Regions from separate parts of the Homo sapiens genome. Here all the other regions are linked to region 3. Evidence: promoter capture Hi-C in human tissues and cell types (Jung and others, 2019). All regions are on one chromosome and are shown on one strand. Each heading gives the region's core, a stretch centred on a gene start or on the middle of the fragment in contact. The rest is flanking DNA. Distances are from core to core; before and after follow the strand shown. Region 1 overlaps SLC39A12 (solute carrier family 39 member 12). Region 2 overlaps SLC39A12 (solute carrier family 39 member 12). Region 3 holds the start of SLC39A12 (solute carrier family 39 member 12).

Region 1 (2,700 bases), core at 67-2,566, 35 kb before region 3:
CTGCAAGGTAGCTGAGGAGATGCAGCCTTCTGGGCAGAACAGAAAGAAGGACAAGTGAATTAGGCCATTTTTGTGTTGCTATAAAGAAATATCTGAGGCTGGATAACCTATAAAGAAAAGAGGTTTAATGGGCTCCTGGTTCTGCAGGGTGTACAGGAAGCATGGTGTCAGCATTTGCTTCTGATATGGGCCTCAGGAAGCTTCCAATCACAGTAGACAGTGAAGGGGAAGCAGGCACATCACATAATGAGAGAGAGAAAGCAAGAGAGAGGGAGACGGGGAGGTTCTGGACTTTTAAACAACCAGGTCTTGGGTGAACTAACTGAATGACAACTTTTTCTGAGACAGAGTCTCGCTCTGTCACCCATGCTGGAGTGCAGTGGTACGATCTTTGCTCACTGCAACCTTCGCCTCTCGAGTTCAAGCGATTCTCCTGTCTCAGCCTCCCGAGTAGCTAGGATTACAGACGCATGGCACTATGCCCAGCTAATTTTTATATTTTTAGTAGAGATGGGGTTTCACCATGCTGTCCAGGCTGGTCTCGAACTCCTGATCTCAAGTAATCCACCTGCCTTGGCCTCCCAAAGTGCTGGGACTACCGGTGCATGTAACATGTGCAGCTAATTTTTGTATTTTTAGTAGAGATGGGGTTCCACCACATCGGCCAGGCTGTTCTTGAGCTCCTGGGCTCCAGCGATCTTCCCGCCTCAGCCTTCCATGGTACTGGGATTACAGGTGTGAGCCACCGTGCCCTGCCACCTTTCCTTTGTTTTATTTCAAAAATACTACTACTATGTGGCGAGCCTAATGTTGGGGCATCTCTTCTCTTCTACAAGTGCAGAGAGGCCTTGGGGAAATAATATTTCTTTTTAAGGAAAACACCAGCCACGATACTCTCTCTTTGAAGTCTCAGTAAAATTTTGCATAAATACCTCCAGTGGTTAAAAGTGAAGAGCAATGAAGTGAACTTTATCTGAAATGGAAAAGACCAGATTACCTGAGGGATAAGGTGGAGCAGAGCGTCCCCAGACAGTGTCCCGACGGCCAAGCCCACAAACAGCTGTAAGATAAGCCTGTAGTTCTCCTCACAGCTATGGAAAAGGACCAGCGCTGTCCCCAGCATGGAGCCCAGTGTGAGAAGGGTGACAGCCACCGTGCTGTAGCCGTATTCTAAGTCAAAGGAGATCGTAAACACAGTCAGTGCCCAGTGCCCTCCATTCCGGCCTCAGCTGGCGAAAATGCCAGAAGAATTGGTCTTACAGTAACAGCCAGTAGGGATATGGATTTTTTAAATAAGTGTTTTGTTTTTATTTTGAGACAGGCTCTCTGTCTGTCACCCAGCCTGGAATGTAGTGGCACTATCATAGCTCTCTGTAGCCTCCACCTCCTAGGCTCAAGTGATCCTCCCACCTCAGCCTCCCAAGTACCTGGGACAACAGGTGCACACCATCATGCCTGACTCATTTTCTGGTATTTTTTGTTTGTAGAGATGGGGTTTCGTCATGTTCCCCAGGCTGGTCTCGAACTCCTGGACTCAAGCAATCCACTCGTCTCAGCCTCCCAAATGGCTGGGATTACAGTTGTAAGCCCACTGCCCCCAACTTGGAATTTTTAAATAAGCGTTTTGTTGTTTTTGTTGTTTTTGAGACAGGTTCTCACTCTGCTGCTCAAGCTGGGGTGGAGTGGTGTGATTATAGCTCACTATAATCCTGAACTCCCAGGCTCAAGTGATCTTCCCACATCAGACCCTCGAGCAGCTGGGACTACGGGCAGGTGCCATCAGGCCTGGCTAAGCTTTTATTTTTAGTAGAGATAGGGTCTCACTGTATTACCTGGGCTAGTCTCAAGCTCCTGGGCTCAAGCAATCCTCCTGCTTCACCTCCCAAAGTGATGGGATTACAGGCATAAGCCACAGCACCCAGTCTTATAAGTGTTATATGCGGCAAAAAGTTTTTAAATTTTTAACAAAAAGAATGAACAGATTTGCTATGGTCTAAATGTTTGTGTCTCCGCAAAATTCACATGTTGAAACCTAACCACCAAGGTGGTGGGTGGTATTAGGAAGTGAGGCCTTTGGGAGGTGATTAGAACATATACTCTTCACCCCTGTTGAATGGGATTAGGGTCTTTACAGGGGCTAAAGGGACTGGAGTTCTTCCCTTCACCAGTCCATGAACCAGGAACGAGACCCTCACCAGATGCCGAATCTGCTGATGCCTTGATCTTGGACTTCCCAACCTCCAGAACTGTGAGAAATAGATGTCTGTTGTTTACATAAGCCATCCGTTTGTGGTATTTTGTTACAGCAAGGACTAAGACAAGACTTTCTTCAAATAACCGTGTTGTTTTGAAGTTACTCTGACTACCCCTTACTAAAAATTATTGCAGCAAGCAAGGACTGAGCTCACCTCCAACCCTCAAAGAAATAAATTTCTCTCACTTGAAACTACAACATCCACAGACAGACACTAGCAATAATTTCCCTTTAATCATATCTTAAGCTTCTCAAAGGCGAAAAGACTAGCTGTTACATAGGAAGCATAAGGTTTGGCAGTATTGTAGACCTATGTTTGTGTACAAAATGAGTACACGTTTTGGAAGAACTTCCTTCCAAAAGCTGTCTGAATTATTTGCAATGTCCAGGGTGATATTATTTTCAGTGACTAAAATGAGTGTTGTTATTGGTGAAAACTGATCAAT
Region 2 (2,700 bases), core at 130-2,629, 56 kb before region 3:
ACACTTCTCACAAGAGGGAAGATAAGTAAATTGCTCTGACTGCTTTTTATTCTTGAGGTTCCTGCTCCCCCCAATCCCCTGCCTGCAAAGTTATTAGATAAGTAAAATAAGGTTGAAGAAACATAAGGGATAGTCTTGGAGAGGAAATGAAGTTTTTAAAGAGCATCCAAAAAACGTGAGGGTGGGGGAAGAGATCTAGAACCCTATATGGTGAGGGAGGTTGATGGGGGAAGAGGGTTTGAAATTGGATATTTCCCCTATTCCAATTCATTTGCCTTGGATACACCTGGAGGGGGCACCTGGGCTATGTTTTATTTTGTTTTGGCATGAATTGGACAGGTACTTCCTTCTCCATTAGCTCCCTCCCTAAGTTACAGCTCCTCCATCAGCTTGGGTTCTATTAATGTACTAAATTCCTGGGCAGTTGTCCAGTTCCCCCCATTGTAGGGACATCTCTAGTTACATCTACAGTGATAGCCCCTTGAGGTTTCTATAGTCCTGTTGCTATGGAAACACCATTTTGGCAGGATCTAAAAACCCTAGGAAAAATGCCTAAAGGTTTGAAACATTGCTTCAGATCCAAAATAAACCCTCCCTTGGCATAACCCATTTACATTTTTTTAATTAATTAATTTATGCTTTAAATAACAAATTATATTAGTTAAAAATAAAGTCTCTCTTATCCAAACGCTGGAAAAAGACAATACTTTGAGGGCTTTTTTTTCTATTTGAGCAATTTTTATAAACTTTAGAGAAGCTGGATTTAAGAAATCCTCTAGATTTCCAATTCTGAGAATTTTCTTAGGCGGAACATTCAGCTCTCAGACAAAATGAGATGCTCTTACACAGCTGCAAGAAAGTAAAGAGAAAATTAAATGCAAAGTAAGAAGGAAGGAAATAATGGCGATTAGGAGAGAAACAGTACCAAATTATAAAGCAATTGATAGATAGGTATTGCTAGTTTTTTCACTTGGTGTATTTATGCTCCCTGTTCCTGTAAACTTAGGTACTGTCAGACCACAGATCCCTGTTCCTGGGGAGAATGCACCAGGGAATACAAGAAAGTAGTGGTCCACAACCTTTTTGGCACCAGGGACTGGTTTCATGGAAGACAATTTTTCCGTGGACCGACGGTTGGAGGTGAGGGTGATAGTTTCAGGATGATTCAAGCACATTACATTGGTTGTGTACTTTATTTCTATTATTATTACATTGTAATATATAGTGAAATAATTATGCAACTCACCATAATATTGAATCAGTGGGGGGCCCTAAGCTTGTTTTCCTGCAACTAGTCGGCCCCATCTGGAGGTGATGGGAGATAGTGACCAATCATCAGGCATTAGATTCTCATAAGGAGTGTGCAACCTAGATCCCTCACATGCGCAGTTCACAATAAGGTTCACGCTCCTGTGAGAACCTAATGCCCCCGCTGATCTGACAGGAGGCGGAGCTCAGGTGAGCAATGCAGAGCGGCTGTAAGTACAGATGAAGCTTCGCTTGCTCACCTGCCGCTCACCTCCTACTGTGCGGCCTCGTTCCTAACAGGACCAGGGGTTGAGAACTCCTGCAATAAAGTTTCCAGTCAACTTGAAACTATCACTACCACTTGCTCATTTGGGGCTCCCTATATTAGTGGATCAACCAACAGTGAAGAAAGTTACTATAATGGTAAGAGTAATTGTTAGTGATTATGTCAGAGGCATGTGAACAAGAGTAATCCATCTTGAATAGGAGCTGGGTAAAATGAGGCTGAGGCCTACTGGGCTGCATTCCCAGACAGTTAAGGCATTCTACATCACAGGAAGAGAGAGGAGGTCAGCAAAAGATACAGGTCATAAAGACCTTGCTGACAAAACAGTTTGCAGTAAGGAAACCAGCAAAGTCTCACCAAAACCAAAACGGCAATGAGAGTGACCTCTGGTCATCCTCACTGCTACACTCCCACCAGTGCCATGACAACTTACAAATGCCAGGGCAATGTCAGGACATTACCCCATATGGTCTAAAAAGGGGGGGGAATGAATAATCCAACCCTTGTTTAGCATATCATGAAGAAATAACCATGAAAATGGGCAACCAGCAGCAATGGGGTTGCTCTGTCTATGGAGTAGCCATTCTTTTATCCTTTTACTTTCTTAATAAACTTGTTTTTTCTTTGCACTGTGGACTCTCTCTGAATTCTTTCTTGCACAAGATCCAAGAACCCTCTCTTGGGGTCTGGATTAGGACTCCTTTCCTATAACAGTTACCATGAGGAGTTAGGGGTGCTGCTGCATGGTGAGGAGAGAAGGAACACAGCTACAAATTCAGATTTCTTGGAGCATCTCTTGGTGCTTCTTGATGCCTGGTAACAATGGTCACCAGGCAACTAGAGGATACACAGCCTAACAAGGACAAAGCAGTGAACATTCAGATCCTTCATTGAAGACCTAAGTTGCCCCTCCCAGGGTTGGGTTGATGTAGATCAACCCAAGTGCTGCCTGGAGCTAAGGAGGATCAGGATTGGATGCTGGAGAGCAGAGATGAAGAATATCAACTATGGCCTCAGGGCCAGCAGGGTTTGGAGCTTCTTCCACTTATTGTTTTCTATGAAGTCTTTGTGGTATTTTGGCTGGCTACCACCACGAAGGGACTTGGGGAGAGATGGGTGTTAAGAGGAAAGGAGGGCATTTGAGGAGTGGAAGGGGCCAACCGTTA
Region 3 (2,700 bases), core at 150-2,649:
ATGGCACCCAGGATACTGAGAGCTTTGTCCGGAAGCACATTTCCACGCTTCCTCCACCTTGAGTCTGTCTTGGATGGAGGTGAGTGTGTTGCCGTTTATGGGGTAAACTTGTAACCAAAGGAATTTCTGTGGTAAAGGGGAAAAATAAAGCCTTCAATTATTGTGCCTGCAACATGTTTGAAAGGATTCATTAATTGGGTGGCTAAGCTGATTTGCAATGACAAGCTGTTTCTACACAGCGGGGGTCTGTAGGTAATTTCTAACCCCAAATGGCAGGAAAGCACCATGGCTGTAGACTTTCAAACTGCACAGCAGCCAAAAAGCTTGCTAGATTCTCTCTCCCTAAACTAAACATAGCGTCACGTAAGTTTCTCCATTTACCAACAGGTGGTACAAGTTATAGGACCCAGGTTGGGAAACACCTTATGTTTATCCCATTATAAAGAACTCCAAGTGATTCATGGTCCTCATGAAAAAGAGAAAATAAATTCTACTAAATGACCAACATCATGTTGAGTTTAAAAGTTTTAGGCCAGGCGCGGTAGCTCACACCAGTAATCCCAGCACTTTGGGAGGCTGAAGCAGGCAGATCACGAGGTCAGGAGTTTGAGACCAGCCTGGCCAATATGGTGACACCCCCGTCTCTACTGAAAATACAAAAATTAGCCAGGTATGGTGGCACGTGCCTGTAGTCCCAGTTACATGGGAGGCTGAGGCAGAAGAATTGCTTGAACCCGGGAGGCGGGGGTTGCAGTGAGCCAAGATCGTGCCACTGCACTCCAGCCTGGGCGACAGAACAAGACTCCATCTCAAAAAAAAAAAAAAGAAAAAAGAAAAAAGAAAAAAAAAGAGTTTTAGACAAGGAAAAGCACTAGAAGAAAATAGTAATGTTCAGAAAACACAGGTCTTTTTTTTAGTTTACTAAGAATCAAGATTCTAGAGCAGGAAGCATCTTAGAAAAACAGAATTTCGAGACCTCAAGAACATGACACACACACACACACACACTCACTCAGTGGTGACTAAAGGAGTGGGGGATGACTTTAGAGCCAATCAACTTCCTGGAAAAAAAAATTATCTTTCTGTTGATGGCTTAAGGCATGTAAAATGTTAACAGCATCTCATGTCCGATCCTGGCCCAGAGATGAGCTGGTAAATGACTGTGGGCTAGTAACAAAGGTACTGGGATTACTTTTATGAGTTAAAAACAACAACAACACTTTAAGGTTGTTATGTTAGCAATTTAAAAGTGACAGAGGATGATGCAAGCATTTCTAACCCCAGTGCTTACCTTCAGAAGAAAGATAAACGATTCTTTATCTGGAGCTCCACAGCCTTTTAAATCCTGGAGAGTATTTCACAGTTACAAAGTTCCCTGTTTTTAAAATTCTTTGACTGTGCACTGGGAGCTAGAGAGGATTATTTCAGCCCAGAAAAGTTTTCAGTTGCTATGGAGAGAGCTGCTCTGAAGGTAACAATGAAGGTGGATAAAAGGGAGAACTTTCTGTCTGGTAGATTTTCAAGGTAATCAAATCAGTGTGGTTCATGAATTTAACTTTTTAGATCAAGAATTAACCAATTTTCTTAGGCTCACCTACTGTCACTTGCCTTTCAAGGGACAGAATCTAGGTCAAAGGATTTCACCTCGCAGAATAGAAAGACTTCAGTGTTAGATGAAGATTTTTTCCTCTCCAGTTGATTCTGTAATAACTGTTTCATCCAGGCTCAAACCAAAGATTTGTTGAAAAGATAGGCTCTTTGGAACCATATTTGTTTTGCAAGATGCAGAAGCCTAAAAGATTGAAGTCTTTCGTAATGAGATGCTTTCAAATGAAAAGTATTGGTTGAAGGAATGAAATTCTTACCAGGGATGTAGGTAGCATAAATGAGGAACTTTAATCAGCTGCATATATTGTGATCACCAGCACCGGTGGTAGTTCTTACATCAGATCCTTCATGCTCCTCAAAACAAAACCTCTCAACAAATTATTAGTGAATAAATGACTAAAGGAACAAAGTGGTTCATTTTCTAGGAAGCAAGAGAAGTTAAATCCTAAGATTTCAGAGTGGGCAGAATGCATGCCCACAGTATAGGGGTTTAAGTCAGCTGGTGGGCAGGTAGAGGAAATTTGAGATCAGGATGATTAGCCTCATCACTAATTGTATATGAAACACGGGAACCCTGCGGTAGGATATTCCTGAGAGAATGCTAGTAATGAGAGATGACAACTTGCTAGCAGCCCTGGCTCGCTCTTGGCGCCTCCTCAGCCTCAGCTTCAGCTCTCTCCGTCTTCAAGGAGCCCTTCAGCCCGCCGCTGCGCTGTGGGGGACCCTCTCTGGGGCTGGCCGAGGCCGGAGCCGGCTCCCTCTGCTTGCCGGGAGGTGTGGAGGGAGAGGCGTGGGCGGGAACTGGGGCTTGATCAGAGGCTGAATCCCGTGCGTGGACCAGAACGTTGGCCACGATGGCGGGTCTCCATCTCTTTCTTGCTTCCCGTCTTTTGCTCTTGATTGTCTGGGACGAGCTCCCTCTAGGCTGCTGGAGTGCCCGGGCTAGGTGCTCCGGATAGGTGCCACAAAGTCCCGTGGCTAGTGCCAGTGAGAGGTGAAGCCAGCTGGGCTTCTGGGATGGTGGGGACTTGGAGAACTTTTCTGTCTAGCTAAAGGATTGTAAAAGCACCAATCAGCGCTCTGTGTCTAGCT

The links. Contacts are between HindIII fragments. The study calls those that stand out against the background at their distance.
Region 1: a fragment that was not itself captured here is called in contact with the fragment with the promoter of SLC39A12 in region 3 in 2 of the 25 tissues and cell types used here (dorsolateral prefrontal cortex and neural progenitor cells).
Region 2: a contact is called between a fragment that was not itself captured here and the fragment with the promoter of SLC39A12 in region 3, in 2 of the 25 tissues and cell types used here (H1 embryonic stem cells and small bowel).

Annotation. Positions count from the first base shown.
Region 1 is chr10:17,985,949-17,988,648 of GRCh38, reverse strand. SLC39A12 (solute carrier family 39 member 12) reads right to left here. Exons shown (of 13, transcript NM_001145195.2): 7 at 998-1,170. Among named protein-coding and RNA genes, the nearest start is that of SLC39A12-AS1, 23 kb to the left of the region's middle. The HindIII fragment of the contact is 4,658 bases long and covers 1-2,700 here.
Region 2 is chr10:18,006,990-18,009,689 of GRCh38, reverse strand. The region is part of intron 12 of SLC39A12 (solute carrier family 39 member 12); the gene reads right to left. SLC39A12-AS1 (SLC39A12 antisense RNA 1) reads left to right here. Exons shown (of 5, transcript NR_038419.1): 2 at 1-25; 3 at 1,007-1,140. Among named protein-coding and RNA genes, the nearest start is that of SLC39A12-AS1, 2.2 kb to the left of the region's middle. The HindIII fragment of the contact is 5,062 bases long and covers 1-2,700 here.
Region 3 is chr10:17,950,617-17,953,316 of GRCh38, reverse strand. SLC39A12 (solute carrier family 39 member 12) reads right to left here and starts at 1,399. Exons shown (of 13, transcript NM_001145195.2): 1 at 1,292-1,399; 2 at 1-126. The coding sequence starts at 40. The HindIII fragment of the contact is 7,346 bases long and covers 1-2,700 here.